Linked DNA regions of Homo sapiens: region 1 is linked to region 2. The links are contacts of gene promoters, found by promoter capture Hi-C in human tissues and cell types (Jung and others, 2019). All regions are on one chromosome and are shown on one strand. Each heading gives the region's core, a stretch centred on a gene start or on the middle of the fragment in contact. The rest is flanking DNA. Distances are from core to core; before and after follow the strand shown. Region 1 overlaps ZNF532 (zinc finger protein 532). Region 2 holds the start of ALPK2 (alpha kinase 2).

Region 1 (5,093 bases), core at 401-2,900, 350 kb before region 2:
TCGGCTCACTACAGCCTCGGCCTCCCGGGTTCAAGCGATTCTCCTGTCTCAGCCTCCCAAGTAGCTGGGACTATACGTGTGCACCACGATGTCCAGCTAATTTTTGTATTTTTAGTAGAGACAGGGTTTCACCATATTGGCCAGGCTGGTCTCGAACTCCTGACCTCGTGACTGCCTGCCTTGGCCTCCCAAAGTGCTGGGATTACAGGTGTGAGCCACCACGCCTTGGCTTCACACATATTCTTTAACTCACCACCAGGAGCACTTGAAGTATTGCATTTTAATGCCACATCAGTCTGACTTATATTCTGAGGAGGTTTTACTCGATGATTAACTCCTTGAAAGCACATACAAGCTTTTACCTGGGTACATTCCAGATCTAGCATAGCACCGAAGACAGGAGGGCTTTTTAAGTATCTGCTAACTTTTTTTGGGGGGGTGGAGACAGAGTCTCGTTCTATTGCCTAGACTAAAGTGCAGTGGCGTGATCTTGGCACACTGCAACCTCTGCTTCCCAGGTTCCAGCAATTCTCCTGCCTCAGCCTCCTGAGTAGCTGGAGATTACAGGTGTGCACCACCACGCCTGGCTAATTTTTGTACTTTTAGTAGAGACGGGGTTTCACCACGTTGGCCAGGCTGGTCTCGAACTCCTAGCCTCAAGTGATCTGCCCGCCTCAGCTTCCCAAAGTGCTGGGATTACAGGCATGAGCCACTGTGTCCGGCCTAAACTATTTCTTTAAACTTTTCTCTCAAAAAAACAAAAAAAGTCCTGCTCTTGTCCCCCAGGTTTGGGTGCAATGGCTTTATCTCGGCTTACTGCAACCTCTGCCTCCTGGGTTCAAACGATTCTCCTGCCTCAGCCTCCCAAGTAGCTGGGATTAAGGCGCCTGCCATCATGCCTGGCTAATTTTTGTATTGTATTTTTTTAGTAGAGATGGGGTTTCACCATGTTGGCCAGGCTGGTCTCGAACTCCTGATGATGAGGTCAGAATGGGTCTATGGGGAGATTAATCATTATTTTATACTTTCAGTGTGGTCTGATTTTTTTTTTTTTTTTTTTTGGGAGAGTCTCGCACTGTCGCCTGGGCTAGAGTGCAGTGGCATGATCTCAGCTCACTGCAACCTCCACCTCCCAAGTTCAAGCGATTCTCCTGCCTCAGCCTCCTGAGTAGCTGGGATTACAGGAGCCCGCCACCACGCCAAGCTAATTTTTTATATTTTTAGTAGAGATGAGGTTACACCATGTCGGCCAGGCTGGTCTTGAACTCCTGAACTCGTGATTTACCCGCCTCGGCCTCCCAAAGTGGTGGGCATGAGCCACCGCACCCAGCCAGTCTGAATTTTTAAAACTGTAACTATGCAACAAAAACTTGAAAGGAAAAAAATGAATGGGAAAAGCAAGTCAACACAATTTCACTGTAAAGCAAACATCTGCAATGTTAGACCTTAGTGTCTTCTTTTATTTCTGTTTCCTCCTCATTGGTGGCATCTGTCATTTCTTTCAGGTCAGGGTCCTTGATGCCATGCATCAGCTGGACGTGCTTCTCCAGCATCAAACGTTTGGTAAAGGTACGTCTGGAGTCTGGGCAGTGCCTGTGGGGTGAAAGGCAAGGAGATAACGCACTTGCTGACAAAATAAGCTCCTGTGGAAGAACTCACGGTCGAAGGTCCTCCTTAGCCGTCAGTTCACACAGACAGGTCCAATAAGCTGAGTTCACACCATGGTTCAACACGCAATCAGCAATTTTGCTAGGAGTGGCCCTTAATTTACAGGTCTAGATGGCTTTAATTTTAAAGGGAAAATATTGCATTTCAAAAGAAGTTTTCACAATGACTCAGTATTCTCTCAGAATGAGCACCATGCTGAACACATTAGTATAAGGTCCCTCCTTGACTCCTTTGTGCTGCTGTTAATTATCCCTGTCCTCTGCCTTGACAAAGACATGAGTGTCCAGCGCCAAATTCTTCCAGGCACAAAAGCAGCATGCATGTTTATACTCATGGCAGTCGAGTGTGTATGGTCACTCAGTAGATGATAAGCAGATCAAAAATAGGTCAATTATTTTTCAAAGAAAAACTTATTTTAATAAAGCAGGCCAAAGATAGTTTAGAAAACAGGCTGGCCAGGTGCAGTGGTTCACGCCTGTAATCCCAGCACTTTGGGAGGCCGAGGCAGGCAGATCACCTGAGGTCGGAAGTTTGAGATGAGCCTGACAAACATGGAGAAACTCTGTCTCTACTAAAAATACAAAATTAGCCGGGCATGGTGGTGCATGCCTGTAATCCCAGCTACTCGGGAGGCTGAGGCAGGAGAATCGGTTGAACCCAGGAGGTGGAGGGTAGGGTGAGCCGAGATCATGCCATTGCACTCCAGCCTGGGTAACAAAAGCAAAACTCCGTCTCAAAAAAAGAAAAAAAAGAGGTAATGGCCCTAGTTATTATGTATGCTATAAAACCAGGTATCAAGAATGCTACTGAGGGAAGGACAAAAAGTCTCTTGTGGTCTCAAATCTGCCTTCAAAATAGCTTCGGAGGAATTCATACTGATTGGCCCTAAACCCTGATGACCTCACATTAGAGACACTTGCAGGGCAGTGGCAGGAGCCAGCACCACCCCCAAAGGACGAGGGCTCTCCATGAGGATGAATTTTTTGTTGGCCGTAAGTTAGCAGAACAATCCCAGCATTTTACTGCTTTACAGTGAGTTCATGGGGAAATAAACAAAACCTATCAGTGAAGCATTATGGGCCAGATCTCCCATCGTCTTCTTGGCCCAGAGCATCCTTCTAAATTCTGATTCTTTTGATTTGGTCTCAACACATACTTTATTCATAATCATTCTTATCTCACTAAACAGCTTCAATTTCACTGAATCAGATGATTCCTACCCGGTTATCATAACCCCCTGCGAATCTGACAGCCAACCTTCATAAGTCTCCTGATCCATAGGGTCCATCTGGCCTGCACTGACATCCATGTAACATTTCAGTGCTTTAGCCTCAGGGTCCTTTGTCTCTCTCTCTCTCATGAGACATGCTTTCTTCTTATCAACCCACTCCAGGTATATTCCAGCTGAGTGACAGCCTTTCACTAATGATGAGATACGTTCTGGTGTTCACGTATGAAGCAGCAGCTTATGACTGTCCACTGGAGTCTGGGTTGATGTTGGCCCACCCAGTCCCTTGCATTTGGTCACAGGCTGCCCCACCTTCAGTGGTGACTGCAGCCAAGGGGCAAAGGGCCCAGCCGAGGACTGAATCTGTGACCAGCCCTGAGTAAACAAGCTAGCCAAATCACCTCGCCAATGTGGCCAACTCGACATGTGCAGAGAGACCCTGTACTGCCAATCAATCGCTCCCCCAAGACACTCAGGGATCAGGCTGGGTGCCAGGGCTCATGCCTGTAATCCCAGCACATTGGGAGGTAGCAGGTGGGTCACCCAAGGTCAGGAGTTTGAGACCAGCCTGGCTAACACGGTGAAACCCCGTCTCTACTAAAAATACAAAAATTAGCTGGGTGTGGTGGCATGTGCCTGTAATCCCAGTTACTCAGGAGGTTGAGGTAGGAGAATCACTTGAACCTGGGAGGCAGAGGTTGCAGTGAGCCAAAATTGCATCACTGCACTCCAGCCTGGGCAACAGAGTGAGACTCCGTCTCGGGAAAAAAAAAACACACAATGTATGTGGGATATGCAAGAAAATGCTCCTTTTTTTTTTATTTTCATATTTAAGTGTGACAACCCAATCCAAAAACTCTATGCCAAAACAATAATACAATTGAGAAATGTAATGTAGGAACTGTGGAGCACACAGCAAGTTAATGGTACTACACTAAAAACCTTCCAGAGGTTCCTCCTGAGTCCTCTCACTGCGTTCCGTTAGAAACCAGGACTTACGAGCAGGCGTACACTTTCCTGATGCCTTTGTGCTTGATCCGGTTGTGCCGGCACAGGCTGTGGGACGAGCTGAAAGACTTGTCACACTGGCGGCAGGGGTGTTTCTTCATTTGCTGGAGGAAGGAGAGAAAGTTCACTTAAGGGAATGAAAATAGATGCACTCAAACAATTAAGAACTCTTTTGTAATAGTTTAAGTTAAATCATTATTACAGGTCCCCAAATCCAAAACTGAGGGTTGACATGACACTACACATGGAAAATGTCATATCTGACCTCATGTGACGGGTCACAGTCAGAACTGTGTCATGCACAAAATTAAAATTATTTTATAAAAGTCCCTTCAAGCTATCCATATAAGGTATGTATGAAACAAGAATAAATATCACAATTAGAGAGTCCCAAGATATTATGTATATTTGAATATTCCAAGATCCAAAAACATCTAAAATTTGAAACACTTCTGTTCCCAAACTTTCAGCTCAGGGATACTCAACCTGTATTTAGGAATACAGTAACAAAACCAAAAAACTTTTTAAAAATATATAATAAAAATGAGGACAGGGCTGAGGTAACCATGATGGGGCTAATTTTAGGAGGATGGGTTAAACTATCATAAGGGTAAAAAAAATTCTCTCTCAAAAACACAGGTTTTTGATTCAACACAAACATCCAGGTATTTGAAATAACATTATATAAATCTTTTACTGAAAAGATAATATATGAAACCATACATCAGTAAATACTAAGTAAAGCCACTACCTAATTTGTGGTAGATAGAATATGCTGTTTTATTCAGTATGCCATGTTAAATGAAATCTCTGGCTACCCTTTAATGACTAAGTAATTATTCATTATATAAGGGAAGTTTTCTAGAAGGATTTTTGTTTTAAATAATATCATTTGATAATCTCAAGAACACAGAACTTTGAAACAACTTTAAGGAGGCTGCCTGCTGGTATACTTAGGGGATGAGAGAGAGAGAGACAGCAAACACTGTCAAGTAGGTAAGCCGAATTTCCTTATATTTAAAAGTTTCCCACTCAGGCTGAGATATTATGTTAACTGAATATATTTCCATGCAGAACCTTTGAAGTAAATTAGTGGCGTAAAACAAATTCTTTGGTTATGACATGCATAGCAGTCTGGAACTAAACAGTGTCATATCACAAGGAAATTAAAGAGCTGTCAAGCCTCATG
Region 2 (5,139 bases), core at 1,973-4,472:
AAACACAATTTCTTATACTCTACATTACTTTACTTGGAATAATGCTAAACATTTTTATGTCTTTACTTTTAATCTCAAACTCACGTGTTTTTTTCAATTGAGGTATTTTACTGAATTATTAAACATCACACATAGGTCTGGGGAATCATCTGGCATCTTGTTTGTGTAGCTGGACAACTCTTAGATCTTATTTATCAGGCTGCTGAACCGTTCCTTGTTCAGAGATACAGATACCCTCCAAACATTTTCTGATTTTTTTTTTTTGAGGTAAGATCTCACTCTGTCACCCAGGCTGGAGTGCAGTGGGCATGAATACGGCTCACTGCAGCCTCAGCTTCCTGGGTTCAAGCCATCCTCCCACCTCAGCCTCTCAAGTAGCTGGGGCTACAGGCACACGCCACCACACCTGGCTAATTTTTGTATTTTTTTTGTAGATGGGGTTTCACCATATTGCCCAGGTTGGTCTTAAACTCTTGAGCTCAAAGGATTCACCCGTCTCAGCCTCCCAAAGTGCTGGGATTACAGGCATGAGCCCCTGCTCTTTGCCAATATCCTTGTTTTTAACTGTTGTGGCTTGCTGAATTAAAGCAGCTGAATTTGAAACAAGTTCAATATCATTTCCTTCAAGAACTAACTCGTCTTTCTGGGCTTGAGATACTGAATGAGCAACACCTGGCCTCATCCAAACCCTGCAGATTTATTTTTCACCCAAGAAATTTCAGATTTCAACAAAAGACTCCTGGCTAACAATGTTGATGGGGAAGTGCGCATGCACAGCTCTCGTCTTACAACAGAAGCCCCGTGCAGCACCCTGGATCATGTTCTGTTTGTGACTACAAATAGTGCCAATGGTATCCAGGTCCTTTCTATTTCCCCACACTTTGTCAACCTGGAGCCTCTTCTTTTCCTTTCTAAGGAGACTGAATTCTCCACTGATGTAAGTGAAGTCCCTCCACAGGGTTCCTCTGGGGCCCTTCACAATAACTGTGTCCCTTCGGAGTGATGTTGACATCTTTGGGAATGTCAAGAGTCTGATTGCGAAGAATGGTCTTCAATCTTGCAGTAGATGTGATAAAGAGAGTCATGTATTTTTTGATGCTATTAGCAGGGCACAGATACATGCCTTTCTTTTTCTCTTCAACGTCTTACTTCTTCCATCCCTCCTTTGATATTCACAGAAAATTCAGAACTAGTGTCCTGGTCTAATTTGAGGTTTTTTTTTTTTTTTTGAGATGGAGTCTTGCTCTGTCCCTCAGGCTGGAGTACAGTGGAGTGATATTGGCTCACTGCAACCTCCACCTCCTGGGTTCACACAATTCTCCTGCCTCAACCTCCTGAGTAGCTGGGATTACAGGCGTGAGCCATGACACCCAGCTATTTTTTATATTTTAGTAGAGACGGGGGGTTTCACCATGTTGGCCAGGCTGATCTTGAACTCCGGACCTCAAGTGATCCACCTGCCTCGGCCTCCCAAAGTGCAGGGATTACAGGCCTAATTTGAGTTTAATTCCAAGATTTCTGTTTCTGATTTTCTTTCATGCTTCCTCCCCGACACCTAAGATTAAAACATAAATTCTGTGGCTGTAAATTCATGAGATGAATAAAACAAATACAGTTAAATCCATTATATGTATGTATGTACGTGTGTGTATATATATGCATGTATGTGTGTATGCATGCATGTATATGTGTGTATGTGTGTGTGTGTGTGTGTGTGTGTATCTATATATGCACATATATAAACCTTCTGCTCTTTACATTTATTTTGCTAGGAGATGAATGTTGGGAGTTGAGGGAATTGGTTTTTCAAATTATTTCAGAGGAACAAAATTAAGTTTCATAGTGAATTTCAACTTTTCCATTTAATAACTCCCAGGCAACACTTCTTTCACAACCATATCACATTTATCTATTGCTTTGGGACATTCCTTCACTTTTGACTTTATTCTCTCTGTGGTGTGCGACAGCATTTGTTTATTCTTTATCATCACACTTTCCTCCTCTCTTCATTCCCAACTTGAAGTTATCTCCTCTTTCTTATCTGGAAAAGACCTTACATTGTGAAGACCTCAGCTTTCCATAAAGCCGACCATTTGCAAAGAGTTGGTAATTTCTGTGTTCTGTGGCATTTCACAGATGTGTTCCCCAGGAGATAGTCATTATTTTACAGTGCCTCAGCTTTAATATCTTTTTTCTCACATGAAGATAAAACTGAAAAACAGAACATATCACCCCTACATTTCTTAATATTTTATCGTTTTAGATGAGTTTTCATCTTGTGAAAAGTTGCATTCCATCAAGGGATAATGATGTACATTCTGTGCTGTGTAAAAACAATTTGCTTTTGAGGATTGCAGTGCCCTACACAGAGTGAATATTTACAGCTATGTCCCTTTCAAAGTCACCCCTGGAGCTGCTAATTTGAGCTGTCTCCACGAGTCTCAAAAGAGGTTTCTGTCTAAGCTGTCAATTTCCAGGTGTCATACATTAAAATATTTTTGGGGAGAGGCTAAGTAGTTACAGAATGATGCTAAAGGATTCTCTATGTTTTTGGACTTGGATAAACTTCAATAAAAGAATTGCCCATATTACAAAATCTACTTTCCCAACAAGAACCATTCCAGGCAATCTGAAGGAATAGGACCTGTGGTATTTCTTCTGTGGATTTCTTCTGATCTTTGTCTGTTCTCTTCTATCGTAGTCAAAATAGGAAGGGGTGTGTGTGTGTGTGTGTGTGTGTGTGTGTGTGAGAGAGAGAGAGAGAGAGACAGACAGACAGACAAGGGGTAAGGGGGGGTAAGCAGGGTGAGGAGGGTGGATCCTGCCTTCCTTCTGTGGCTTCTGCCTTTCTCAGAGAACTTCAGAGGATGGCTATAATGCCTGTTCTAAATGAACAACATATGACACATATTTTCACCTCCCCAACACCCCCTCCACGGGTTTCCTATGTGTACTTCAAATGCCTGATAACCTTGGTATGAGAACTGGTTGTGTTACTCCGGCCTTAATCCCTTTATCAGGCAGCAAGTTTTTCCTTTCCTAAGGAGCGAGCAACTAAGCCCAGGGTCCAGCATGGGCTTTGTAAAGAGCTGCTCGGTCTCCTGAGCAGCAGCCAGTGACAGCTCGTCTGGGTTTCATCAGCTCCCTGGGGCTGCATTTCACCAGGCCCCCTTGCCAGGGCCTCCCCAGCGTGTCGTGTCAACAAGTGTCGCACCTACTGCAGAAACAGCCCTCAAGTTTCATCACAGGGATGCTAAAATATATTCTCCAGCTTCAGCAATGACCTAGTTCACTGAAGGGCGGGGAAAAAATGCTCTTCTTCCAGAACTTCCCCGGGCATGGAATTTCCCCTCTTAGGAAGAGATGAACTTTCTGGAAGCAGACCCATCTATGCTTTGACCTGATCATGGAAGACCCTGAGCCCTATAAACTCCTTTGAATCCCTGTCCCGGGAACAGGGACACCCAATCAATGCCTCACACACAGCCTGGGGAATCCACAGCTGAGCCAGCCCTCCTACAACATTTCTTGGACAAAGAGTACTGAAAAGTAAGTATGTAGACTTTGGTTTTTACATAAGGAATGGCTGTGCTTTCAATATATAGTTGTTTACATTTTCTGCAACAAAGAACAAAGCAGATGGTTTCCTGATGAAATAGAATGAGATGAAACCAATAGGGATTATATGGGATATTTGGGCATATAAGGTTTTAAAGTGGGCAAACTCTCATGGTCTTGTAATTTAAGTCCATTTTGACCCTTTTTGAAAATTATTGCTATTTTTAAATTTGCTTATTTTGGCTTGACAATAATGAATGAAAACAGTTTCTTTCACATCATGTCTATCTTAACAGTTAGAAAAAATATACAGAATGACTCAAACGAGTGATATGTAAAGTTTTGCAAAGCAACATAAAAAGTCAACTATCCAGGTAACTCAGGCCCCAGAGACTTTTGTCTGAAATATTTGAGTATTTTAGTCAAGAGTTATTCCTTTTACTGTGAATTAACTGAATGATTGAAAATCTCTCCTATCTGGGTAGACACAGGAGTATATTGTCTGACAACAGGTAATGCAATTTGCTGAAAAGCTATCAGGCTTTTCAAAATGGCTGATGTAAACATTTATCGAGTTGTTAAATAGATTTAAAAAAAAATTTAAGGCAAAAAGTCAGCCAAAAAAAAATCCATCAATTAAATGCCACCACTGTCACATTACAATTTAATGAACACATCTAAACTTTAAAAGCCTTGATTAAGGGTGTCAGTTACAGACATTTGGCAATCATTTAAAAATAGATAAAAGCAAGAACGGCATTTAGAGCTGCTTCTGCTCTAATTATTTTCTTTCCACAACCTTTTCCTTAAGTAAAGGTAGCCTTTATTTCTAAAGATTAATTAACCAGGAATGGTCATTCCAGAGATATGTGATATGTTTTATAACTCTATATCAACTAAGGACAAATTGAAGGGGTTTTTTGCTGTGTGGCTTCTGAATTGAAACCAAGGATGTTGTGGGTTACCTTCCGAATCAACAACTTCACAAATCCTGTATTAAAAAGCATGGATGGCCAATAACCATGTTCAGATCTTGGAAATCAGGACTTAAAACAAACTAAATGAACTTTAGCTCCCAAATATACATTGTCCTTTTTTTGTTTTGTTTTGTTTGTTTGTTTTTTGTTTTTAGATAGAGTTTTGCTCTTGTTGCCCAGGCTGGAGTACAATGTCTCAGTCTCAGCTCACTGCAACCTCCGCCCCCTGGGTTCAAGCGATTCTCCTGCCTCAGCCTCCCAAAGTAGGTGGCATTACGGGTGCCTGCCACCATGCCCAGCTAATTTTTTTTGTATTTTTAGTTGAGATGGGGTTTCACCATGTTGGCCAGGCTGGTCTTGAACTCCTGACCTCAGGTGATCCACCCGCCTCGGCCTCCCAAAGTCTTGGGATTACAGGCGTGAGCCACCGCGCCTGGCCTACATTGTCTTTTTGATGTTTTTACCAAACATTTAATCATAATTTTGGGAAGCTTTTAGGTAGGGCAGAGTTCCTATTGTCATTACCTACAAAGTTTTTTTCTCCTCCAGTTTCATGAGTTTTTAACAGCCTCCTGAACACTTGTGTGTAGGTATCAGCCCCTGT

The links. The method cuts DNA at HindIII sites, captures the fragments that hold promoters and counts their contacts. A contact is called where the count stands out against the background at its distance.
Region 1: a fragment that was not itself captured here is called in contact with the fragment with the promoter of ALPK2 in region 2 in 1 of the 25 tissues and cell types used here (mesenchymal stem cells).

Annotation. Positions count from the first base shown.
Region 1 is chr18:58,977,970-58,983,062 of GRCh38, reverse strand. It overlaps ZNF532 (zinc finger protein 532), which reads right to left. Exons shown (of 10, transcript NM_001375912.1): 8 at 3,896-4,008; 9 at 1,446-1,593. Among named protein-coding and RNA genes, the nearest start is that of ZNF532, 120 kb to the right of the region's middle. The HindIII fragment of the contact is 3,204 bases long and covers 49-3,252 here.
Region 2 is chr18:58,627,174-58,632,312 of GRCh38, reverse strand. It overlaps ALPK2 (alpha kinase 2), which reads left to right and starts at 3,222. Exons shown (of 13, transcript NM_052947.4): 1 at 3,222-3,549. It also overlaps the pseudogene RPL9P31. RefSeq lists an enhancer at 2,663-3,205. The HindIII fragment of the contact is 9,768 bases long and covers 1-5,139 here.